Linked DNA regions of Homo sapiens: regions 1, 2, 3, 4, 5 and 6 are each linked to region 7. Evidence: promoter capture Hi-C in 16 types of primary human blood cells and fetal thymus (Javierre and others, 2016). All regions are on one chromosome and are shown on one strand. Each heading gives the region's core, a stretch centred on a gene start or on the middle of the fragment in contact. The rest is flanking DNA. Distances are from core to core; before and after follow the strand shown. Region 1 has its middle 230 kb from the start of LINC02947. Region 2 has its middle 130 kb from the start of UBE2V2. Region 3 holds the start of LOC107986941 (a long non-coding RNA gene). Region 4 holds the start of UBE2V2 (ubiquitin conjugating enzyme E2 V2). Region 5 has its middle 180 kb from the start of UBE2V2. Region 6 has its middle 210 kb from the start of UBE2V2. Region 7 holds the start of SNAI2 (snail family transcriptional repressor 2).

Region 1 (3,857 bases), core at 1,048-3,547, 640 kb before region 7:
TGGCTTGGTACAGAAAAGTTTGTGTCTTATAAATGCCAGAATACTGTTACTTCAAATGGGTTTTGGGTGCAATGGGACTTGTTTATTTCCTTAGTGCCCCCTTGGTCCCAGTAGACAGTGTTTTCTGGGAAGAAAGATGCTGTATTCCAGAAATGTAATGTCACAGTCTTCCTCCACAGTGCTGAGAACAATTCCACACTCTGGGTGGATGTTATTTCTTCTACAAATCAGAGTGAGTTCTGGGGCTAATTATTTCCTTCTGTCAAACAGGGCAATAGCAAATGGTCATCTCTTTCATCATGACACACTATGATGAGCTCAGCCACTTCCTTGCTCTAATTTCCTGGATTGCTACACAAAAGATCTGTGGAGTGCAACACAGCATCCTTTGGAAATCACAGCAGAAAGTTCTTTCTCTCCCCAGAAGGAGTAGGAAGAGAATGGAGCTGACACAATAGCTTTGTGTATAAATAGCGTCTCGTTTATGAAACTGGGACCACTTTTCTGTGCAGGATCTCTACAGGAATATCAAGGAGTGGATGTGACATGTTATTGACCTTAGCAGATATTTTACAACCTGGGGTTATAATAATCTCAGGAATTCCCCTGACATCATTTTCCCCTGCATCATTTCCCCCCTTACCACCCCCAGCAGCACCCAAGTCCATGAGGGCACAATCCTTCCTGCACAGACCGGTCCTGGGTGGCCTTGCCTGCTAGCAAAGCACCCGCTGTGCATCGTTCTCGCCTGTGAGCACCCAGAGGAAGTTCACCGCCACCTTCCCCTTCTACCACCTATGAGAAAAGGCCACCCTCTCTTGGATTTGATCCCAGAGCTCTGGGTCGAAGGCAGGGACTTCCTATGTAAGTAGAGTAAGTGAACAGCAGTGGGCGGATGCCTGGGAAGGCGGGCGAAGAGGGTGAGGGGTGTGCTCTCTCCTCACTCTAAACGCGGTGAAGGCTGTGTCCTTTGACGGCGTCCTGAACATCCGGGCCTGGAGCTTTGGTTATGACTGCGACATGTGCTCTGGCTCTCCTGCCTTTGTGCTCCAGGTGACTTGACCTCAGGTGCCTCCCGATGTGAGCAGCTGAGAACCAGCACGTGACTCACACCCACTTTTGCTTGGCTACCACTCATGCTTCCCACTCCTGGACTTCTCTTCCATACCCACCCATACCCCCAGTTCTCTGTGGACCAGACGCTCATGGGGTGTCTGCTTTGAGCCCCATCCTGCACTGGGCTCCCCAGAGGCAAAGGTAGAGGGACAGAGACAGTGAGGAGGGAGGGGTAAACAATGGTCACTGTGCGGTGCGGTGTGACACTGCGGGAACATGTTCGGAGGTGTTGATGGGCACAGCCTGATTGATCATGGCACTGGAGTAGCGCTCATTACACTGAGAGTCAGGATTCCCAGAGACAGACTGCAGTTCCAGGTCCAGTCTCATACAGCTCTGGCTGAAGATTCAGATCAGCTCGCAGCTACCTGATGGGATTTTAGGTGTTTCAGGATGACTGTGTGTCCTCCTCCAGCCAGAGAGTAGATATCTGAAATTTTGCCATTAGACATTCATTTCTTAGACATCATTCTTTTGGTTCACTCCTTGGTTAAAATAAACATTTATTTAGAGTGGAGCCACCTTAATCTTCAGCTCATTAATCCTGGGGTGTAGGTGTCACATTGCTGTTTAAGAAAGATGTTTGGAGGAGGGGTGGGTGGAGAGAGTGGAGGGAGTAAGCCTGTGCTGACTAGGGGAGGAGGGCAGCTTCTAGCAGAGGCTGACCATCTAGCTGCCTTCACAGGCCTTTGGCAGTGTTGCCTGCTGTGGTATAGGGACAGGCCCGGGCCCGGGCCCCTCACATGCACTGTCTGCTCCCACATTGCCTGGAGTCTGTGGAGAAGTTCACATGACAAGCTTGCAGGGCGAATTGTTTCCTCTTAATTATTTATTGGTGCAAAGCTAGAGAGGCCTGGTGACTGGGGTGGTGTAGGGGAAGGACAGCATTGTCCTCTGAAAGGGCTGTGCAAGGAGATGGCCACTCAGGGGCTGCTATGAGCCTCAGAAACCACCGAATCCATCTCATTTATTGTTTGGATAATAAATTGGAGATGCCGTTGCGGGGAAAGGGGCATTTCCTAAATTCGGGGAGAGATGGTAATGCAACGCTCCTGTCTTCTGGTCCAGGAGCTCACAGTGAGGGAGCAGCGCTCCTGCCCTGAGTTCCTTTCACCAAGCCCTCTGGATTCCCCACATCCTACTCCACAGACAACAGGCAAGGTCGCCGTGCTGGGGCTGAAAGGCGCTCTGCACACCTTCCGCAGCGCCACTGCCTCTTCCTTGCCCTGCTGGAAGAAGAAGCAGGAGGGAATGGGTTTGAGGGAGAAGGATGGAAGCCTATTGTGGAGATACAGAAATTTACTACAATATAAGTTTAGGTCAAAGACTTAGTTCCACGTTGTAGGGTTGGCAGAGTCTGATTTGTGGTTTTGACTCAGTCGTAAGGTAGGGGTGGGCCAGTTAGCAGCTGAACCTGTGAGCTCATGGAGTGAGTGGGCCACACGGGTTCTCCTAGACATCCCAGTGCCAGCAGAGCACAAGGTGTCAAGCAAGTGCTAAGTTCATGAAGTAAATGATGAATGCAAAGTGTGGCATGTTCTGCTTAGTCTCCACTGTGCTGTGGTAAGCTTTGCTGTCGATAGTGGAGTAGAATAGAGTATGGCATGGTGCAGTATGGCCTAATGCAGACAGCATAGTCTACTGTTGAATAGCACAGTGCAGTATGCCACAGTACAGTGTGACTCAGTGCTGTATGGCACAGTGCAGTGTGACACAGTGCTGTATGACAGAGTGATGTATGGCACAGTGCTGTATGACACAGTGCCGTATGACAGAGTGCTGTATGACACAGTCAGCACTGTATGACACAGTGCAGGACAACACAGTATGCTACAGCATAGCACAGTACTGTATGGCAGGGTTAGTATGGTACAGTGCAGGTCAGCATAGTATAGCACAGTCTCGTGTGGCATAGTACAGTATAGTAAGTGTAGTATAGTACAATGTAGTCCAGCATAGTACAGTGTGGTACAGTACAGTACAGTACAGTGCAGTATAGCTAGGTGTAGGGTGGCTGTGCCTTTGAATAGAGAGGGAGGAAACACTTGTTTGACTTTCTTTCTTTCCTTCCTTTCTTTCTTCCTTCCTTCCTTCCTTCCCTCTCTCCCTCCCTCCCTCTTTCTTTCTTTCTTTCTTTCTTTCTTTTTCTTTCTTTCATTCTTCATTTCTTCTTTTTTTCATTTTTAGGATATTTTAATGCTTGCTTTCAAAAAACAGCTTTATTTTGGAAGCATTCCCCTTGAAAATCAGAATGAGACAAGAATGCCCTCTCTTACCACTTCTATTCAGCATAGTAATGGAAGTCCTTGCCAGAGCAATCAGGCAAGAGAAAGAAATAAACAGCATCCACATAGGAAGAGAGGTAGTCAAACTATCCCTTGTTGCAGACAACATGATTCTATATCCAGAAAACCCCATAGTCTCTGCCTAAAAGCTCCTTGAGCTGATAACCAACTTCAACAAAGTTTCAGGATACAAAATCAATGTTCAAAAATCACTAACATTTCTATACACCAACAACAGTCATGCTGAGAGCCAAATCAGGCATGCAATCCCATTCACAATTGCCACAAAAAGAACAAAACACCTAGGAATACAGGTATCCAGGGAGGGGAGAGATCTCTACAATGGGAATTATAAAACACTGCTCAAAGAAATCAGAGATGGCACAAACAAATGGAAAAACACTCCATGGTCATGGGCAGGGAGAATCAGTATTGTGAAAATGGCCATACTGCCCA
Region 2 (3,556 bases), core at 264-2,763, 780 kb before region 7:
CAAGAACCTATATTTAATCATTCCCCTCAAACATCTACCCAGAAATAGATAATGAAACTAGAAAAGATGCTTTGGGGGAAAACTTGATTTTGGAATTGTACCAATAGATGTGAATTCCAGGTGAGGTTTCAGTTACTCACTGGGTGATCTTGAGCAGGTAACCTCTTTTAATGCCTAAGATTTTTACTTTAAAAAAATTAGAAATAATAATACCTATGTCATAGAGATGCTATAGGTATTAATGAAATATATGTAAGAGACAACATATGCATATTGTTGGTGTAAATGTCAGTTTCCCTTCTCTTTCCCTCCTTGAACCAAACCACTTCTGATTAGTGAATGACACCATAAGCAAAGTTTAAACACAAGCTAAAGAGCCAGAGAAAATATCTGCCACACATGTAACAGAAAAAAGGCCATAGCTGTAATAGTTGAAGAGTGCACACCAGTCAATGAAAGAAGAAGATAAATGATAGAAGAGGCAGTAAAGTCAAGCCCAAGAGGGAAAAAAGAAAAAAAACCCTACTAATGACCAATCAATACTGCAAAGATGTTCATCCTCACTAAAAATGAGGGGAATGTACATACAAACATCAGTGAGATGTCATGGTTCATTGGTGAGATTGGACAACGTTCAGGAGGCTGAGACTGTATCTGAGGAGGTGGGGCCCAGGAAAAGATGCCCTCTCACCCCCCAGTGCATTCGAGTGCAGCTGTTTCGGTGCCATTTTAGCAATGGCCATCAAAATTTGGCAGGATCTGGAAAAGTTAAAAATGCACATTTTTGACCCAGTATTTCTATTTTTGGAATATGTCTTATATGAATACTTGCCTATAAACACAAAATGAATAAACAATAACATATATCTTGCATTATTACATAGTGAAAATTGGATGCAACCTTCGTGCCCATTAAGGGGGGAATAGTAAACATTTTTGGTACATATATAGATCTTGTGAAATATTATGGGGTATTACAAAACACGAGTTAGATATATAGATACATACACTTATTCTCCAATATATATTTGGTGAAATTCTTGTTTATCTCAAAAGCAGCAAGAAAAAAATCTCTATGCACAAGGGATCTAGCAGACAACAGGCACTCAAAATGTGCTTGTTGAATGAAATCTATGTAAACACATAGAAAAAGTTCTGGAAGGGCATGCAGCCAAGTGTCCTCAGCAGTTACCCAGAGGGAAGGGACAGGATTTGGGAGAGAGGGAAGAGGACTTGTACATCATGCGTTTCTGTATTGTTTGCATTTTAATTTTGTGACAGTTTTAAGGAAGTTGTGCCCTTCCAAAAGTAGGTGACTTCACTGTCATTTATACAGTAAAGATGGTCATGGTGCCAGCGATTTTAGAGCAAATGTTATTTCCCTTCCTGGTGTTTTGGAAAGAAGCCTCGGAGCTGGAAGGATGGGGAATGCTGGCTACAGCTGAACACCCAGGAAGGATGCGGTCTCCCTGAGTCATACCTACTCACTCATCTCTTCACTCCACAAACAACAACAATCTGGCTTTTGCGCCCACCGTCCCCAAAATGGTTTTGCTCAGATTACCAAAAACTTCTTGGCTACCAAGTCAAATGAGCATGTTTTAGTTCTCATATCACTTGACCACTCCTCTTTGCAATATTCTCTTAACTTTCATAAAATCATGCACTTCTGGTGTTTTCTTCATCTGGGCTACTTTTTCTCAGTCTCTTAGCAGTTTCTCTCTCCATGCTTCTCAGATGTTAGTGCTCTTTAGGGTTTGTCTCCAGGTGTCTTCTCTTCCTTTTCTAGGTTCTCTGTGGTCTTCCTGCATGACCCCCACACTCTCAAGGCTGAACTGCAATCTCCAGGCCCTGTTTCTAGGACAGACCCTTCCTCTATGCTCCAGACCTGTGTCTCTGATGGTAACTATGCATCTCTACCTGGGAATGTCCTGAGTGTCTCAAAATCAACATATTCAGAGTCAGACTAATTTCCTCCAAATGCGAATCAGCTGCCTCGCCAGGCCCTGGCTCCATGACTGGCACCACACTGTCCAAACAGAAGCCTGGATGTTGTTCTTGATGCTTCCCTTTCATTAGCTCACTGCCCTCAGTGGGAGGCCAAGCCGCCAATCCTTTACTAATGCCTCATGAACCCAATCCATTCTGTATTCTCCATCCCAAAGCCACTGTCTTTGGTTTGAGTCACATTTCTTGGCCTAGATGAGTGGAACAGTTTTCTGAATGGTCTCTCCCCTCCTGTCTGCTGTGCTGCAGTGTATAGTGCTCCTTCTCACAGTTCATCTGTGGCTGTCCATTAATCTTAGGATACAATGTAAGGTTCTTAAGGATCTGGCATTTACCTCTCATTCCCTCCTGCCTTCTCTGCTAGCCTTGCACACAGAAATACTTGCAGTCCTTCTAATGTGCTGTGTTCTCTTGCCACATTTTATTTAAAGGATATTTACTGAACACTTACTAAGTACCAGGTTGTAATCTACATGCCCCCTTGTCCCTGCCCTCGTGCGGGCATACATTCTAGCAGGGGAGGCAGAAAATAAATGTGCAGGCCAGGTGCAGTGGCTCATGCCTATAATCCCAGCACTTTAGGAAGCCGAGGCGGGCGGATTACCTGAGGTCAGGAGTTTGAGACCAGCCTGGCCAACATGGTGAAACCCTGTCTCTACCAAAAATACAAAAAGTAGCTGGCTGTGGTGGCTCTGGCCTGTAAACCCAGCTACTCGGGAGGCTGAAGCAGAAGAATCGCTTGAACCCAGGAGGCGGAGGTTGCAGTGAGCCAAGATCATGCCATTGCACTACATCCTGGGCGACAGAGTGAGATTCCATCTCAAGAAAAAAAAAAAGCATGCAGATAAATAGGACCTTGTAATGTAATGATAGATGCTGTGGCGTAAAGACGGCAATAAGACAGAAAGTGTGGCATAAAAGCGGTGTGGGAGTGTGGTCCTCTAGCTAGGAGGTCAGGGAGGTCCCTGTGACCAGGTGATGCTTGAACTAAGAGCAGTTTGGCTAAGATTCTGGACAGTGCACTCCACGCAGGAACAAGCAGTGCGAAGGCCCTGTGGCAGGAGCAGGCTTGGCGCGTGCTCCAGACAGAAAGGAGGCCAGCCATGCGGCGTGGGAGAAGGAAGCGCAACCTCATGATGCTTTTGGATGCGGGTAAAATAAACCCCAACTCAGGTTGACTTAAACTGTAGGGAAACTGGTGATCTATTGCCGACATTCTAGAAATAGGTGAGCAGGGTTTGTTTGTCTGAGACACCACCATGTCGCCAAGGCCCCAGGACTATCCGTCTCTGGCTTTGCTTTACTCTTCCGCTATTGCTTAGTTATGGGACCAGAAGCTAGGTGAACGACAGAGCCCCCACGGTCAAATTCTCCCACGGCCACATCGGGGATAAAAGGGGGACTTCTCTGCCTGGGCCTTCTCGCGAGGAAAGCCCTTCTTAGGCCCGGCGGCCTTTCCCGCAGGGCTTGCTGTGCACAGCGAGGCGGCATGTGTAGGAGGGCGAATGTGCTGGAAGCGGAGATGGGCCATGGGAAGCCTCTGAAAGTT
Region 3 (3,491 bases), core at 180-2,679, 820 kb before region 7:
TGTGCCCCCCCAATCCTCTGGCTCTGGGCACAGTTGAGCACTAGGATTGTCCTAGAAGTTGCAGTCCTTGTGACCTAGAGTGCCTTTCTAGTTGATGTAGGGTGCCAGAGCACTTCAGCTTATGGTGGCAAGGCTTGTAGCAGCTCAGATTCAGATCGCTGGGATGGGCATCTCCACTCTGGCCAGGGCTGATTTAAATGCTCCCTTCCTGGGTGAGCATCAGCTGAGTTTGGTCTGGCTTTCTTTTCTGCTATAACAGGGCAGCATTGAGTTTTAGGCCTCACGATTGCTATGCTCTCCCTCTCCCCAGTGCACAGAGATGCTCTGGGCACCATGCAGCCACTGCCAGGGGTTGGGGAGGGGTGGCATTGGTGATTCAGGACTGTTTTTCCTAACTCCTCAGTGCCTCTTTCAGTGATATGAAGTTACAACCCGGTACTGTGAGTGTCCACCTGATTTTTGGTTCTCATGAAGGTTTTTTTTTTTTTTGTGTGTGTAGATGGTTGTTAAACTGGTGTCCTTGCAGGGGAAGGAAGATTGGTGGAGCCATCTGTTCTACCATCTTACTCTGCCTCCTTGGTTTTTCCAGGACAGACGTTCCTGGTTGGCAATATGCAAAGAAAGGAGTGGAATATTGCTAAAACTGGAGCTGACTGAATTCTGAAATACCAGCTCATCAAGTAAGTTGTCAATTCCCATCCAGCTGAATTGGGAAGTAGTGGAGACACCTAAAACTTAAGCTAAATAAAGAACACCTGAATAACATAGTGCTTTCTATTCTGTTGTTACAGTTAACAGCCTTGATGATTCAGAGAAAAACAGTACTAATCTGGGTGAGTAATGGTGTCACTTGGCAGTGCTCTGGATAAAGTAGTACCTGCAAAAAGCCCATCTGTTTCTTCTGACCTGGTAGTGAAGGCAATAGCTGGAGGTGACCAGACTGACTTGAAAATAAGCAGGCTCAGCAAGGCAGCCATTTGAGGAAATTCACTGGGGCTGATGCAAGACTCAGAGAGAAAGAAGCTTGACATAGCCCATTTTCATGTATTACTTTCCAGAACAGCTTCTTTGCTATTTATAGGCACATGTGTTATCTTGGCCTTCTGGGAGCAAAAATTCCTGTGTTTGACCAGAGCTGTTTTTGCCAGTAGGCAGTTCCTAAGAGAAACAGGGCATTTGTTTGTTTTACTTTTGGTTTTGCTAAATAAAAGCTGAAATTTTGCAAATACCAGACTTGTTTAGTATCAGGCACTTTATAAACGTAAAAATGTGCATACATGTTTTATTGCAATTGCCTTTCATGTGACACAACAGAAATCAGAGCCGACCATAGCATTCAGCGCTGTGTACATGGAGGGAGTCCAGCTTGGGTGAGAGGAGTGTGTGCATAAAAACACAGGTTTCTAGAGAGACTCATCAGAAACCAAATGCATGTCCTCAGAGCATGAAGGTGCTTTTCCTTTTGATTCTCCTGAAGATTCATTTTTTATATCATGCTGTGAACACATAAGTGAAACCTAGGTAGTTCTGAAGCCCTTTGTCTTCCTCTGTTGCTCTTAAAAAAGTAGGTTACCTTGAGTACGACTCCCTTCCCTTGTAGTTCTGAGTCTGTTGGCGGAAGACATGCGGCGAGGTGGAGCCAGCCTGGCTGTGGGAGGCAGGGATGAGGGTTCAGAAACCTGCGAGGGGAGCACGCCCACACTTCCTTTTATGAAATGCTATGTGCCATTTCAATATGTGGCAACCATGTTCAGAGAAACTATGGATAGAGTTTCCTCAAATGATCCTGGCAGTTTTATTTTTATTGATTGACTGATTGATTGATTGACTGAGATGGAAGCTTGCTCTGCCGCCCAGGCTGGAGTGCAGTGGCACCATTTGGCTCACTGCAACCTCCACCTTCTGGTTTCAAGTGATTCTCCTGCCTCAGTCTCCCGAGTAGCTGGGATTACAGGCACGTACCACCACACCTGGCTAATTTTTATATTTTTAGTAGAGACGGGGTTTCACTGTGTTGTCCAGGCTGGTCTAGAACTCCTGACCTCAAGTGATCTGCCTGCCTCAGCCTCCCAAAGTTCTGGGATTACAGGCATGAGCCACCGTGCCTGGCCCCTGGCAGTTTTAAAAAAAGGAAACCCATTGTAAACAGAGACTGATCTTAGATAAGCAAACAGAGAATGTACCAGAGTTACCAGGGACATAAAACTGTTGGTTAACATCAGAATATTGGTTGAGAAAACCAAATGCCAGGAGGGCTGTTGTTTGCTTTCTGATTGAATTTCTAGTATTTCCAGTATTGAATTAGAACCCATATTTTCTCTAGGGCCCTAAATTATTATTTTATCACTTTTGCCACCTTATTTGGTTATGTCTCAACAGGGATTTGACTATAGTCTTTATATCTACAGGGTTTATCTTGTTTTAATATATCGAAGATCATTTAATGAACTATGATAAAATTATAAGAAAATTTGAAATATTGAATTGCTTAGATATCTTGCTATATTCATTTGATAAATTGAATAGAGATATTAGGATTAATATGAAGTTTATAAATATGGCATCTATAAAAATTAAAGTTCTAGGAAGACAGATATCAGAATCATCTTTTTGAGTCAGTCCCTGCAAATAGCCTTATATGATTTCAAGGGCTTGTTTTTATTTGGTAATTTCTGGCTTTTGTGGCAGGAAAAGAGACCTCCGAGAAAAGAGGAAAGAGGCTGGGCACAGTGGCTCATGCCTGTAATCCCAGCACTTTGGGAGGCAGAGGCGGGCAGATCACCTGAGGTCAGGAGTTCAAGACCAGCCTGGCCAACATGGTGAAACCCTGTCTCTACAAAAATACAAAAATCAGCCGGGCATAATGGCAGGTGCCTGTAATCCCAGCTATTCGGGAGGCTGAGGCAGAAGAATTGCTTGAACCTGTGAGATGGAGGTTGCAGTGAGCCGAGATTGTGCCATTGCACTCCAGCCTGGGCAACAGAGCAAGAGTCCATCCAAAATAAAAAAAAAAAAAAAAAAAGGAAAGAAAGAGAAAGCAGAATGGAAAGGGGGATACAGTAACTAAATCTCTATTTCTCCTTGACTTATCAGAGTTGGCAGTTTTCTTAGGGAGCCATATTAGCCATATTTCAATCATTTCAGGATTTGTATGACTTTGCCTATTTTCATGTTTTGCGGGGATTAAGAATAGCACCTTGCGAATAGCACCTTAAGAACAGCACCTTAAGAACAGCACCTTGCTTTGTGTCACTATGGATCAACTCACTGAAGGCCGTTGATAGGGATCATCTAGCTGACTGCAGAGACATTATTTTAGTGTGGTTTAATCCAGCTTAATAATAAGCTCTCCTCCAGACACAACCCATTTTCCGAGTCAGAAAACTGATGTTCTCATCCTTGCTGTCATATTCAAGCCAAGCAGTTCTGTGTGTGTTTTTATTTTTGTGACAAAGTCTTGCTCTGTCGCCCAGGCTGGAATGCAGTGATGC
Region 4 (3,629 bases), core at 238-2,737, 910 kb before region 7:
CATCTCGGTTCACTGCAAGCTCCAACTCCCGGGTTCACGCCATTCTCCTGCCTCAGCCTCCCGAGTAGCTGGGACTACAGGGGCCTGCCACCATGCCTGGCTAATTTTTTGTATTTTTTTTTTTTTAGTAGAGACAGGGTTTCACTGTGTTAGCCAAGATGGTCTTGATCTTCTGACCTCGTGATCCGCCCGCCTCCGCCTCCCAAAGTGCTGGGATCCATGCCCGGCCAAAAGCATTCCCTTTGAAAGCCGGCACAAGACAAAGATGCCCTCTCTCACCACTCCTATTCAACATAGTATTGGAAGTTCTGGCCAGGGCAATCAGGCAAGAGAAAGAAATAAAGGGTATTCAATTAGGAAAAGAGGAAGTCAAATTGTCTCTGTTTGCAGATGACATGATTGTATATTTAGAAAACCCCATAGTCTCAGCCCCAAATCTTCTTAAGCTGACAAGCAACTTCAGCAAAGTCTCAGGATACAAAATCAATGTGCAAAAATCACAAGCATTCCTATACACTAATAACAGACAAACAGAGAGCCAAATCATGAGTGAACTCCCATTCACAATTGCTACAAAGAGAATAAAAATACCTAGGAATACAACCTACAAGGGATGTGAAAAATCTTTTTTTTTTTTTTTTTTCAGTTTTATGTAGAGACTAGGTATCACTATGTTGTCCAAGCTGGTCTCAAAGTCTTGGGTTCAAGCCATCCTCCTGCCTCAGCCTCCCAAAGTGTTAGGATTACAGAAGTGAGCTTCGGCGCCCAGCCTGTATTACTTTCCTTTTTCTTTCTTTCTTTTTTTTTTTTGAAATGGAGTCTCCCTCTGTTGCCCAGGCTGGAGTGCAGCGATTTCTGCTCACTGCAGCCTCACCTCTTGGGCTCACGTGACCCTCCCACCTCAGCATCCCTAGCTGTTCAAATTTATTGTCCAACTCTTTTGAATCGTTTATCAACGCAAATCTGTCAATGCCCACTTATTTTTATTTATTTTTTTGAGGCGGAGTCTCGCTCTGTTGTCCAGGCTGGAGTGCAGTGGCGCAATCGCGGCTCATTGCCCCTCCGCCTCCCCGGTTCAAACGATTCTCGTGCCTCAGCCTCCCAAATAGCTGGGATTACAGGCGCGCGCCACCACGTCCGGCTAATTTTTGTATTTTTAGTAGAGACGGGGTTTCGCCATGTTGGCCAGGCTGGTTTCGAACTCCTGACCTCGGGTGATCCGATCGCCTCGGCCTCCCAAAGTGCTGGGATTACAGACGTGAGCCACCGCGCCCGGCCCTCATGAACTTATTCTTTAGCGTTTCATTTTGAGAGCGGGATTCACAAGGGAATTGCGGAAACAGCAGCGAGGCCCCGCGACCCCTCGGCCCACGTGCGCGCTGTCCCTCGGGTCGCCCCGCGCCCGCCGGGGGCGGAGTCCGCTGTGACGCGTGCAGGGCGGCGCGCTCCCGGAAGTGACGCGCGACGGTTCGTGCGTGCGTGCGGGCGGCTGCGTCGGGCTGCAGGAGAAGATGGCGGTCTCCACAGGTCGGTTCCCGGGCCGGGCTGCGTGATTTTCCGCTCCGACCCGGCTCTGCCCCTCCGTCTGCTGCTGGCGCCCGAGCGCTGACCGTGCGGGAGAAGCCCGAGTGCGCTGTCTCGAATGCCGCGCTCTCCGCAGAGCGTAGCCTGGGACCGGGTGGGACCGGCGCCGAGGCCCCGGCGGCCGTCGGGTTGGCGGGTCGTGCTCGCGCGTCGGCCGCGCGCCGGCGGGCTGGGGGCGGGGTGGCTCCCGCGCGGGCGCCCCCGTAGGTTCCGGCGGGCGCGGGTCCGAGTTGTAGGCTGAAGGCTCTACGGGAGGGAGGCGAGGAGGCCCAAGGTGGGCGGGTGTCAACCTCCGGCACCGAAGATGGGTCAGGCCAACCGGCACCGAAGATGGGTCAGGCCAAGAGGTGTCCTGGATCAGAGTAGGGGTCCCATTCCTTTGGACTCTCCTTGACATGGGTTGGGGAGTAGAGGACGATTGCTCCTTAAAATAAGAGCGAGAGGATCTTTCTTACCTGACTGAATACGTGTGATCTTTTTATTATTTATGAGGAAAACTGCAGTGCAAACAAAATAAAAGACCAGAGCAAGATGAAAGCTAATTGAAGAACAAGTGGTTTCTTAGATAAGCTGTTCAACTCCTCTTTCCTACTGAATACAATGTTTGGTTTCCTGTGAGCACACAAGTATTAACGTTGAGGTTTTAGACATTAGACCATTTCAGAAATGTTAAAAACGTTAAGCTTTAGTTTACATTTAAAAATGTTAACCCGTGTGATCTGCCTTTTTCTTTTCTTTTCTTTTTTTTTTTTTTTTTGAGTCAGAGGCTCACCCTGTTGCCCAGTTGGAATGCAGTGGTGTGATCTCGGCTCACTGCAACCTCCACCTCCCAGGTTCAAGTGATTCTCCTGCCTCAGCCTCCCAAGTAGCTGGGATTACAGGCGCGTGCCACCAGGCCCGGCTAATTTTTGTATTTTTAGTAGAGACGGGGTTTTGTCATGTTGGCCAGACTGGTCTCGAACTCCTGACCTCAGGTGATCCGCCCACTTCGGCCTCCCAGAGTGCTGGAATTACAGGTGTGAGCCACCGCGCTCGGCCTGATCTGCCTTTTCCTAGTCTTCGTTGAAACAAGAGTATAGAGCAGTGTGATTTAATAGTTTATGCCATCATTGCATAATAAAATGAATTTTCAAATCTATATGTACTGAAATGGAAGGCTTTGAATATATGTTGTAATTGTTGCTTTAGAGTAATACCTCAGGATACATTCTGCATACATTTTAATTAAGTGGTGTCTTTTACATCTTTATTACATATAGGTGTCATAGGTTTTAAGATCTTTAGCAGTTCTAGTGTTGGGGTAGTATACATACTTGGGTCAGCTAGCTAGTAAGGCAAGGATTGTTTTAAAAGTGGAATTTTAGTGTTATGACTTTACTGTGCTTGCTGAAATCTAATCTGTGCTCGTTAACGGGGCCATATCTTTATAACAGTTGTGCTTAGGACCTCTTATAGATTTTTGAAAATTTAGTAATAAAATAATGCATTTTAATTTAATACTTTTCATTTTCCTTTTGTGGGTTGCATTATTAAACACAATTTTTTCATAACACTATACATGAGTGTATGTTAATATTTTGAAAAGACCAAAGGTTAGATGATATTAATGGCAAATACTTTTTGTTAATCACTTTTAGTTGTTTTGGAAGTTGAATATAAATTATAAAGATTACTGATAAATTATTAGCATATTGTACATAGGGAGTCTGTATTTTTTTTTTTTTTTTGAGATGGAGTCTCGCTGCATTGCCCAGGCTGGAGTGCAGTGGCATGATCTTGGCTCACTGCACCCTCCTCACCTCAGGTGATCCACCCGCCTCAGCCTCCCAAAGTGCTGGATTACAGGGGTGAGCCACCGTTCCCATCTACTAGTTTTTTTTTTTTTTTTTTTTGAGACGCAGTCTTGCTCTGTCACCCAGGCTGGAGTGCAGTGGCGCGATCTCGGCTCACTGCAACCTCCGCCTCCCGGGCTCAAGCGATTCTCCTGCCTCAGTCTCCTGAGTAGCTGGGACAACAGGCGCGTGCCACCATGCCCAGCTAATTTT
Region 5 (3,700 bases), core at 702-3,201, 730 kb before region 7:
CCTGGGCAAGAGTGAGACTCTGCCTCAAAAAGAAAAGAAAAAAAAAGAAAAACATGGAAAGTTTTATATTGTTGTTAAATTTTTAGCTGTATGTTTCACATTTTTCCACAAGAGAAGCCCATTTAAGCTGTAAGCCTTGTAATTTTCTGATTCCATCACCCAGAGCCTTGGCCTTTGCACTCAGAACTTTTCTTTCCTGGCTCCTAATCTCTGGCATTTTGCCAACAGGGCTGGGAGGTGGCCAGGCCAGTGCCCTGGAGGCATAAAAAAGTGGCAGGCAGGGTTAGTGGCAATGGAAATAGAATGACCTGTGCTGTTGGGTTAATTGTAGATGATGATAATAGAATGAGCTACTCCTTTAAAGAAGGAATTTAGGTCCTAGAACTAAATTTATAGCCCCCTTTTTTTTATGGACTTGTGAGCAGATTTTCCCATTTCCCAGTTCAAGTGACCTATGCACACATTTTGAGTAGCAACAGGAAATGTGAGAGTCCAGTTATTTTACTCCCACTCTTTTCCTTGTCTTTCTGGGGGAAAATGCTTCCATACGCATAGTAATATACATATTTTAAACAAGAAAGAAGATAACAAGGTCAATAATGTAGGAATGAGTGGCGCAGTAGTCTTAAAAACAACCAAGAAGTCACATAGTTATCTGCAAAGAAAAAATAAAAAAGATCAACATGTAGTTAAACTCTTTGGAAACATTGCTTTAAATGAGACCTAAGTGGGCTTAGGAATCAGACATGAAATACTGCGGGAAGAATGTGAAGAGATCAGGGATTGGCATTTTTGATTACAAGAAATAAAGGTACATTACCAGATTTCTCCTGCCATACATGGTTTGAAAGCACATTTTAGATACAGCAAGACCAGTTTCCAATGACTAAATCTACTTAGGTCTAAGGCATGGTGAAATCTTCTCAACTGCAACCCTAGGGGGATGTCCCAGGAATGCATTGCTTTTCTTTCCCTTTGGAGTCCCAGCACCATGTCTTGGCACAGGAAACCCCTGGCCCTCTGGACTGGCTCCTGACCATGCAATGCTGTGCATCTCTGTGGCTCTGTCCCTTCCCCCATTTCCCCTTAACCTATGGAGCTTGGTGTCTGTGTTCTGTGGCCAAGTGTGGCTCAACTCTTCCCCAGGGTGTGGACTATTCCTGATTTAATAGTGGGTCCTTAGAGCAGCTCAGCTTGGCTTGTTTGTCCTGCCTGAAATGACGCTCAGCACACAGTGGGCTCTACTGCAGGGTGCTGGGGTGCTCTGTGGCTCTAAGCGATACTTCACACCACCATAAACACCATCCTCCCATGTAAAGTTCAGTTGGAGTCTTTGGTTGCCAGGCAATGCTATTTAATGAGGGTAAAGAGTGCTTGAACACATCTACAACTTGGCAGCCCTTCTACTTCTTATAAGCTACCATATGCATTGGAGACAAAAGTCTTCCATAGGCTACTTTTTAATGGGACAAGTTTACTTAAGAGCTGAGAGGAGATGGTGCCAGTAGTCTTGTTTTGTTCCTGTCCAATATTAGCCTTGTCAAAAGTCTTATAGAGTTTCCTGGGTATTTCTTTATTACATTCCATGTAAAGCTCTCTTGGGGAGCCAAGAATTTTGGCTGTAGTATATATAGAGGGCTCATAATATGGGCGTGTGTGCAAGTGTGTTTGTTTTTGAGTTTTAGAGGTAGCCCTATAAAAAGGCAATGCAATAATGATGAAGTTCTTGCTATTTCCTTCTTACTGTTGATGAAATTCATCAACCTCCTTGCTGATGGAAGTGCAGTCTCTTGCTAAAGTCTGGATGTCCTGTTAGATTTGCATTAATAGAACAACGAAACACATGTTACACTCAATACTATTTTAATTAAAATTAATACATGCCTTTTAGTTAGAGTGGGTAATATACGTTTGAACTGGGTTAAAAATTATTTTTCTCATGGTACATTTTGGAAGGAACTATGTCTTTTAAATGAATGCCTATCAGCTGGCCATCTCTTCCACGAATTCCTGAAAGGTGCTGGGAGGTTATGCAGGGGTCTAACTTTTTGAGCACTCTTTATAAAAGGCTACATAGGTTTGCTTCTCTCTGGCTGAGGACCCGCACTGGCTCTCTGGAAGCATGATGAATGCAGTGATTCCTCCTAGTTTGGGCCCTGGGACCTACCACTTCACCCAGGTCTTCAACTGGTCTTGGTTTGTTTTCCGTTTATCATCTGTATGACTGGATCTGAGTGTATATGCTAATGACATGATCTGTAGTATTGTTCAGGTCTGTTGAGATACTAGGTGACGTTTCAACATGGAAACATGTCTGAGACAGACCACATGTGAGTGAAAGGAAAGTCCAAGAGCCACTCTCAGAAGCAGGGGCTCAGAAGCTCAAGGAGGCTTGCCTGGGTCTGAAGATGTCTGCAAGGAGCAAGTGCTGAATATCTGGATCGGAGAAGAACTACGCTCTTCCAGGGTAGTGGGTCAAAACTAGTTTTAGCCCTATTTCCTTTTCATTCATTCATTCAGCCAATATTTATTGGCTGTGTACTTGAGTACTCTGTGCCAGGCATGCTATTTCTTTGGGTACTGGGCCGTGAATATGAATGGAACGAAATCTTCTCTTTCCCTAAAGACACTGCCTATTGATGGGGAAGGCAGAGGCATGCAAACAGTTTTAGTCCTTCAATCATGCAATACATATTTGCTGTTGCCTGTTATATACCAAGCACTGTTCTAGGTGTGTTGAGGGTACAGCAGAGAACAAAATAGGCAATTCTTATTCTTGCCTTTATGAAACTTATTTTCTAGTCAATAATGACAATTTGATGCCACCAGACCCTGCCAGGCTGCCTGCTTCTGTCAGGAAAGGTTTCACAGAGGAGGAAGCAGCTCAACTATAATGCAGGTGATTAGTAGGTCTACTTTCTGTCTCTGTGGAATTGCCTATGAATGGGCATTTCATATAGATAGAATCATATACTATGACATCTTTTGTGGCTGGCTTCTTTAATGGAGCACGGTGTGTTTGAGGGTCATCCACAGTGTGGTATGCATCAGTACTTCATTTTTAAAAATCACCTGGCCAGGCACAATGGCTTGTGCCTGTGACCCCAACACTTTGGGAGCCGGAGGTGGGCGGATCACTTGAGGCCAGGAGTTCAAGACCAGCCTGGCCAACATGGTGAAACCCTGTCTCCACTGAAAACACACAAAAATTAGCTGGGCATAGTGGCACACACCTGTAATCCCAGCTACTTGGGAGGCTGAGGCAGGAGGATCATTTGAATCTGGGAGGCAGAGGTGGCAATGAGCCGAGATCGTGCAGTGCCACTGTACTCCAGCCTAGGTGGCAGAATGAGACTGTCTCAAAAAAAAAAAAAATCACTGAATAATATTGTATTTTTTTTTCGAGACAGAGTCTTGCTGTGTCGCTCAGGTTGGAGTGATGTGGTATGATCTCGGCTCACTGCAACCTCTGCCTCCCACGTTCAAGCAATTCTCCTGCCTCAGCCTCCTGAGTAGCTGGGACTACAGCCACGCACCACCATGCCTGACTAATATTTGTATTTTTAGTAGAGACGGGGTTTCACCACGTTGGCCAGGCTGATTTTGAACTCCTGGCCTCAAGTGATCCGCCGACCTTGGCCTCCCAAAGTGCTGGGATTACAGACGTGAGCCACTGCGCCCAGCCTCCCAAGCCTTTTTT
Region 6 (3,865 bases), core at 622-3,121, 710 kb before region 7:
CCGAACCAAGATGAAATCTCTGAATTACCAGAAAACAAATTCAGAAGGCCGATTATTAAGGCTAATCAGGGAGGACCAGAGAAAGGTGAACTCCAACTTAAAGAAATAAAAAACATGATACAGGATATGAAAGGAAAAATCTTCAGAGAAATGGATAGCATAGATAAAAACAATCATAACTTCTGGAAATCAAGGACACACTTAGAGAAATGCAAAACGCACTGGAGAGTTTCAGCAATAGAATCAAACAAGCAGAAGAAAGAATTACAGAGCTCAAAGACAAGGCTTTCAAATTAACCCAATCCTTCAAAGACAAAGAAAAAATAATTTTAAAAAATGATCAAATTAACAACTTACATTTATACCTTAAGGAACTAGAAAAAGAAGAACAAACTAAGTCTAAAACTAGCATAACTAGGGAAAAAGAAAGATTAGAGCAGAGAGAAATAAAACAAAGAATAGAAAAACAATAGAGAAAATTAATGAAACCAAAGTAATTTAGTTCTTAAAAAGATCAAGAAAATTGATAAACCTTTAGCAATACTGACTAAGAAAAAAAGAAGACTTAAATAACCAAAACTAGAAATGAAAGAGAGGACATTACAACTGATTTACAGAAATAAGAAGGATTATTAAGAAGTATTATAAACAATTGTATGACAACAAATTTGGTAACCTAAATGAAATAGACAAATTTCTAGATACACAAAGCTTACTAAGACTGAATCACTAATAAACAGAAAATTTGAGTAGACCTATAATTAGCAAGAAGATTTAATCAGTAATCAAAAATCTTCCAACAAATAAAAGTCCAGGATCAGATGTTGGTATGGTATAAATGTATCCCCCCCCAAATTCATGTATTGGAAACTTAATTCCCAGTGCCACAGTGTTGGGAGGTGGGGCCTTTTGTGATATGTTTCAGTCATGATGGTTCTGCCCTCATGAATAGATTAATGCTATTATAAAGGGCCTTGATGGAGGGAGTTAATCTCTTTTGGCCCTTTTGCCTTCTGTCATATAAAGATACACAAGTTTCCTCCCTTCTTGAGGATGCAGCATTCAAAACACCATCTTGGAAGCAGAGACTGGACCCTCACCAGACACCAGACTTGCTGGCACCTTGAATTTGAACTTCCTAGTCTCCAAAACTGTGAGAAATAAATTTATCTTCTGTATAAATGACCCAGTTTCAGATATTTTGCTATAGCAGCACAAATGGATGAATACAGATATCTTAATTGATGAGTTCTACCAAACACTTAAAGAACTAGCACCAATATTTATCAAATGCTTCCAAAAAAAATGAAGAGAAGGGAACACTTCCTGACTCATTCTATGAGGCCAGCACTATATTGACACCAAAGCCAGACAAAGACAGTACAAGAAAACCATAGACCAATATCCTTTATGAATACCAATACAAAAATCCTCAAAAAAATTAGCAAACTGGATTCAGCAACATATTGAAAGGATTATACATCATGACCAAATGAGATTGATTCTTGGAATACAAGGATGGTTCTACACATAAAAATCAATGCAATATACCACATTAACACAATAAAGGGAAAATCCATGATCATCTCAACTGATGCAGAAAAAGTATTTGAGAAAATCCAATACCTTTTCATGATAAGAACGCCCAGCAAACTGGGAATAGAAACTACCTCAATATAATAAAGCTCTTATATGAGAAATCCACAGCTATCACTATACTCAATAGCTATACTATACTCAAAAGACTAAAAGCAATTCCCCTAAGATCAGAAATAAGACAAGGGTGCCTGCTTTTGTTACTTGTGTTCAACATAATATTGGAAATTCTAGCTGAAGCAATTAGGCAAGAAAAAGAAATAAGAGGCATACAAATTAGAAAGGAATAAGTAAAATTATTTCTGTTTGCAGATGACACAATCCTATATTTAGAAAATTGTAGCAATTCTGCACCAACTCCCCCCTGGCCCCACAACAACAAACAAAGATAAACCAAAGCAAACTGTTAGAACTAATAAATGAATTCAGAGGCTGGATACAAACTCAACATGCAAAAAGCAGTTGCATTTCTCTATAGTGACAATGAAAAATCTGAAGTGGGAATTTAGAAAACAGGAGGCTAAATAATTGTACATGGAAAACTACGAAGCATCGCTGAATGAAATTAAATAAAGTATAAAAAATGGAAAGACATCCCAGGTTCATTGATAGGAAGACTTAATATTGTTAAGATGTCAGTTCTACTCAAAGCAATCCACAGAATCAATGCAATTCCTATCAAAGTTCCAATGAGTTTTTTGCCAAAATGTAAAAATTCATCCCAAAATTCATGTGTAATATTAAGGGTCCCAAATAGTGGAAACAGTATTGAAAAAGAACAAAGTTGGAGGACACTAACTTCCTGATTTCAAAACTTGCTGTAAAGTTTCAGTAATCAAAACAGTGGTTCTGGCCAGGTGCGGTGGCTCACACCTGTAATCCCAGCACTTTGGGAGGCAAAGTTGGGTGGATTGCTTGAGGCCAGGAGTTTGAGATTAGCCTGGCCAACATGATAAAATGCTATCTTTACCAAAAATACAAAAATTAGCTGGGCGTGATGGCACGTGCCTGTAATCCCAGCTACTTGAGATGCTGAGGTGGGAGGATCGCTTGAACCCAGGAGGCGGAGGTCACAATGAGTCGAGATCAAGACTGTACTCCAGCCTGGGTGACAGAATGAGACTTCATCTCCAAAACAAAAAACAAACAAACAAAAAAACAACCAGTTGATTCTAGCATAAAGACAGACATAGGCCAATGGAATAGAATAGAGTGCCCAGAAATAAACCTTTGCATACATGGTCAATTGATTTTTGAAAAGAGTGACCATTCAATGGAGAAAGGATAGTCTTTTCAATAAATGACATTCGGAAACTGAATATCCACATACAAATGAATGAATTTTGATTCTTACTCTATACTATATTACAAAAATGGATCAAATACCTAAATGTAAAACCTAAACTTATAAAATTCCTAGGTGAAAACATAGAGAAAAAGCTTCATGACACAGGATGTGGGAATGATTTCTTGGATATGACACAAGCGTTTTACTACTGACAAAAGAAAAAATAAATAAATTGGACTTTATCAAAATCAAGAACTTTGTGTATCAAAGGACACTGTCAACAGAGTGAAAAGGCATCATACAGAATGTGAGAAACATTTGCATATCATTGATCTGGTAAGGGATTAATATTTGGTATGCATAAAGAAATCCTAAAACTCAGCGACAGAAAAAACAAAAAACCTAATTCAGAAATGAGCAAAGGACTTGAATAGATATTTTCCCCAAGAAGATATACAGATGGCCAATAAGTACATGAAAAGGTGCTCAACATTACTAATTAAAATATGCAAATTGAAAGCATGAGATACCACTTCATACCCATTAGGATTGCTATGAAAAAGACAACCGAGAAAATTATTGGCAAGGATATGGAGAAATTGGCACATTTCTGCATTGTTGGCAGGGATGTGCCACCTCTGTGGAAAACAATGTATGGTGATTCTTAAAAAGAATTAAATCTAGAATTACTATACGGTCCAGCAGTTCCACCTCTGGATATGTATACCCAAAAGAACTGAAAGTAGGGATTTAAAGAAATATTTGTGCGTCCATGTTCATAGCAGCATTATTCACACAATATATCTGAAAGGTACAAACAATCCAAACATGGACATCAACAGATGAATGGATAAACAAAATGTGGAGTGTACACACAGTAAAATACTATTCAGTATGAGATTCAAATACACGCCATTATATGGATGAACCTTGAAGAAATTATGCTAAGCGAAATAAGCCAGACACAGAACAAATACTGTA
Region 7 (3,446 bases), core at 472-2,971:
GGAGCAGAGGTTGTTAGCAAGAAATGGAGCACTTTGTGCCCTAACAACTTTTTGAGTAGTCAGGAAGTAGCTATCAATGACTGTCCATCATTAAAAGCACTATGTCACAACTTCATGCAAATCCAACAGCCAGCCCAGGGCTTCATTGTATCTCAGAGTAACATTCCTGCCTATGGTTTTTCTCTTACCCGTGTGAGTTCTAATGTGTCCTTGAAGCAACCAGGGTCTGGAAAACGCCTTGCCGCAGATCTTGCAAACACAAGGTAATGTGTGGGTCCGAATATGCATCTTCAGGGCGCCCAGGCTCACATATTCCTTGTCACAGTATTTACAGCTGAAAGATTTTCTAGACTGGGCATCGCAGTGCAGCTGCTTATGTTTGGCCAGCCCAGAAAAAGTTGAATAGGTCTTATTGCATAAATTGCACTGAAACTTTTCAGCTTCAATGGCATGGGGGTCTGAAAGCTTGGACTGTAGTCTTTCCTCTTCATCACTAATGGGGCTTTCTGAGCCACTGTGGTCCTTGGAGGAGGTGTCAGATGGAGGAGGGGGACTCACTCGCCCCAAAGATGAGGAGTATCCGGAAAGAGGAGAGAGGCCATTGGGTAGCTGGGCGTGGAATGGAGCAGCGGTAGTCCACACAGTGATGGGGCTGTATGCTCCTGAGCTGAGGATCTCTGGTTGTGGTATGACAGGCATGGAGTAACTCTCATAGAGATACGGGGAAATAATCACTGGGAAAGAAAAGGGAGGGAGAGAAGATTAAGGCAAAAATAATTAAAAATAAATCCACACGCAAGTATACACACACTGGAAAGATATTTAGCAACACACACGTGATTTTCTTAGGAAGAAGATAGACCCATTTAGGAGGGCATACACACTGGTAAAATGTTTCATTTCCACCCTGGCACCTACGGAGTTACTGTACTTAATGCACACATAGGCTGACAGCTGCACGGAGCTATAGGTGCTCTGAAGTCAGACAGTGCAGCCAAGCCAGTGCCTTCGCCGTCCCCATTGAGGAAGGAGAGCCTCAACATTATTTTTAAACATACAGAAAAGTTGTTTTCCATGTTACGTATGGGCTATTTAGGTGTATTACGACCGTGAGTACAAAGATATGCCTGCATCAAGCCGCCTTCTAAAGGAAAGGAGACTTAGTGCATGAAAAACGCAGTAATTCAATCCTTATGTTGCTCATCTTTCACATACTCATTATGCATGTATACACAGGCTTTAGCAAACGAAGCTGCGAGATTTGAATGAAATGTTCCTTGTTAGTCAAGAATTTTAAAAGTTTTGAATTAAAACGAACCCTAAATGATCAAAAGAATGTAAGCTCCCTTTCAGGACACTGTTAAAAAGGAAAACAGTTGAATCTTTGGCTCTTTTGTAATGGTATTTGAAGGGTAATACGTAGATTCATATTTGCAAAGCTCTAGATACGTAGTTCTAGATATATTTTTCTCTTTTTACCTGTATGTGTGTCCAGTTCGCTGTAGTTTGGCTTTTTGGAGGCGTTGAAATGCTTCTTGACCAGGAAGGAGCGCGGCATCTTGCCAGCGGGTCTGGCGGGCGCCCGGCGCGGATAACGGTCCGGCGGGAGGACACGGCGGTCCCTACAGCATCGCGGCGGGCCAGGCTCGGGCAGGGGCCGTGCTCAGGTGCGGCAGACGGACGGGCCGGCGCCTCTGAAGTCACCCGGCTCCTTTACGAACTGAGCCCGTTTTGGCTGGGAGGGTTTTTTTTTCCTCTCTTTTGCAAGAAAGATCCAATCACAGCTGAGAGGTTCAGATTTCAGCTCCTCCCTCTGGGACAGCTGTGAACAGAGGAAGAATCTGTTGTCAGACTAAATTATTCTGGTTCAAAATGGGCTGTTTTTTGAGATTTCAGTGGAGAGGAAAAAAAGTGTTTAAGTATTTTCAAGAGAGGTAACCTCGCTCGGTGAGCCCCGCCCGCGATCCACGCTCTCTGGGAGCTAGGAGGGGCGCAGGAGCCGGGGTCTCTGCCCTGCCCGCCTGGCTTCCAGATGTGGTGCAGCGCCAGCGCGCGGGGACACAGTGTCCGCCAGGAGAAGGAAGGGCCGCCCTGCACCACACCAGGCCAGCCTCTGGTGTTAATGAGAGCCTATATTTGGAAGTGGCATCTGGAGAGGTTTGCCTTGCACAAAGACCAAATAATTACCTCTTGGCTTTTGAAAAAGGAAGGGGGAAGCGGGAAGACAAAGGCGCCTGTGAGCGCGGAGGACGCTCTCCTGGGACTCTGGCCTGGAGCGGGACTGCAGCCTTGCGTGCGGCGAGGGCGCTGCGCTACTCAGGGCTTCCGCGAAGCCAGGGGCAGCGCGGCCGCGTGCAAATTAAGTACTCATGTCACCGTGTTAGCTATGGTGGCTTGAAAGAAATGCTTTGTAGCCCTCTAAAGGCAGGCTGATCGGAAGAACTGGAAGATTGCAAAGATAAAAAGGAACTCTGGCAGAGAAGGGGGGCAAGAGGTAACTGTCATTTGGAACCACCGGACATTCTCTCACACTTTTGACAAGAGATCTTATCTTTTCATGTATTACAGTGCATCTTTTTTTTTATGGGAAAAAGGGTTGTATGGGTCTTTAGAGACAATTATTTTTATTTCTAATATTCCCCTGCTTTTATGTGGTGCTATTTTCATCAGTATAAAGCCATTAAAATCCATCTCAGTATCTACCAGTTTCCTGTATAATGCTAAAAAAGAAATTGAAGGATATTATTATGAATATAGATTGATTAAAGTTTTAAGAACCCAGTCTAGTAACTGCAAAAACACCTTTATTTTGTGTATGGTCTTCAATCTAAAAATACTTTCAGGTGGTTTATTTTAAATATAAAATTTCAAGCATATTTTAAAGCATCTCTGTCCATTGCAGACTTTTATCCCTATCTTTTGCTAAAAGAATAAGGAAAGAACAAATTCACATGAAGATCACCCTACTCTTGTTTCTAACAGGTGCTGGAGGAAAAAAGTGAAAAAGAAAATAACAGTGGTGATGTCAAGACTTGTCAGAGAAAAGTGCATTGTCAGGTTGCATAACTTCTTAATCTTGGAATGAGAAAACAAGAGTGTATGTGTGTTTGGAGGGTGAGGTGGGGCACTCACAGATTTCCTAAGCTAATTTCAATGATTATTCTTATTTCTTCCAACAGTCACTAATTTAAATGTCAAACAGAGAAAATAATTCAAAGGAATCCTTATGCTAATGGAACTGTACTTGCAGGAGAGAGGAAAATATGAATACATATTCGATTTCTCCACACACAAACTGGAACCTGGAGTAAAAGCCAGAGGCAGTTTTCTAAGCTTGCTACTCTATGTGAGGGTTTGTTCGGATGTAGGCACCTGGGTTTATGAGAGCAGGAGTCCTCCTTGCTTTTCACTCCATTTCCCACAAAACACACATTTTTGTTACAGAT

Evidence for each region. Contacts are between HindIII fragments. The CHiCAGO score rates a contact against its expected background, and 5 or more counts as called.
Region 1: a fragment that was not itself captured here is called in contact with the fragment with the promoter of SNAI2 in region 7 in 3 of 17 cell types (endothelial precursors, M1 macrophages and monocytes); the score reaches 11.1 in endothelial precursors.
Region 2: a fragment that was not itself captured here is called in contact with the fragment with the promoter of SNAI2 in region 7 in 1 of 17 cell types (endothelial precursors); the score reaches 6.0 in endothelial precursors.
Region 3: a contact is called between a fragment that was not itself captured here and the fragment with the promoter of SNAI2 in region 7, in 2 of 17 cell types (M2 macrophages and endothelial precursors). The highest score is 7.0, in M2 macrophages.
Region 4: a contact is called between the fragment with the promoter of UBE2V2 here and the fragment with the promoter of SNAI2 in region 7, in 2 of 17 cell types (endothelial precursors and total CD8 T cells). The highest score is 6.3, in endothelial precursors.
Region 5: a contact is called between a fragment that was not itself captured here and the fragment with the promoter of SNAI2 in region 7, in 1 of 17 cell types (endothelial precursors). The highest score is 9.1, in endothelial precursors.
Region 6: a contact is called between a fragment that was not itself captured here and the fragment with the promoter of SNAI2 in region 7, in 1 of 17 cell types (endothelial precursors). The highest score is 6.1, in endothelial precursors.

What each region holds. Positions count from the first base shown.
Region 1 is chr8:48,281,373-48,285,229 of GRCh38, forward strand. No RefSeq gene overlaps it. Among named protein-coding and RNA genes, the nearest start is that of LINC02947, 230 kb to the right of the region's middle. The HindIII fragment of the contact is 770 bases long and covers 1,913-2,682 here.
Region 2 is chr8:48,139,778-48,143,333 of GRCh38, forward strand. No RefSeq gene overlaps it. Among named protein-coding and RNA genes, the nearest start is that of UBE2V2, 130 kb to the left of the region's middle. The HindIII fragment of the contact is 4,612 bases long and covers 1-3,556 here.
Region 3 is chr8:48,100,658-48,104,148 of GRCh38, forward strand. LOC107986941 (a long non-coding RNA gene) reads left to right here and starts at 590. Exons shown (of 3, transcript XR_007060907.1): 1 at 590-680; 2 at 792-833. The HindIII fragment of the contact is 817 bases long and covers 1,022-1,838 here.
Region 4 is chr8:48,006,944-48,010,572 of GRCh38, forward strand. It overlaps UBE2V2 (ubiquitin conjugating enzyme E2 V2), which reads left to right and starts at 1,488. Exons shown (of 4, transcript NM_003350.3): 1 at 1,488-1,527. The coding sequence starts at 1,512. RefSeq lists silencers at 1,194-1,453, 1,684-1,883. The HindIII fragment of the contact is 2,629 bases long and covers 1-2,265 here.
Region 5 is chr8:48,188,188-48,191,887 of GRCh38, forward strand. No RefSeq gene overlaps it. Among named protein-coding and RNA genes, the nearest start is that of UBE2V2, 180 kb to the left of the region's middle. The HindIII fragment of the contact is 6,922 bases long and covers 1-3,700 here.
Region 6 is chr8:48,212,630-48,216,494 of GRCh38, forward strand. No RefSeq gene overlaps it. Among named protein-coding and RNA genes, the nearest start is that of UBE2V2, 210 kb to the left of the region's middle. The HindIII fragment of the contact is 2,325 bases long and covers 710-3,034 here.
Region 7 is chr8:48,919,708-48,923,153 of GRCh38, forward strand. It overlaps SNAI2 (snail family transcriptional repressor 2), which reads right to left and starts at 1,722. Exons shown (of 3, transcript NM_003068.5): 1 at 1,480-1,722; 2 at 189-734. The coding sequence starts at 1,558. LOC107986942 (a long non-coding RNA gene) reads left to right here and starts at 1,850. Exons shown (of 4, transcript XR_001745895.3): 1 at 1,850-2,494; 2 at 2,983-3,057. RefSeq lists an enhancer at 1,833-1,912. The HindIII fragment of the contact is 2,868 bases long and covers 464-3,331 here.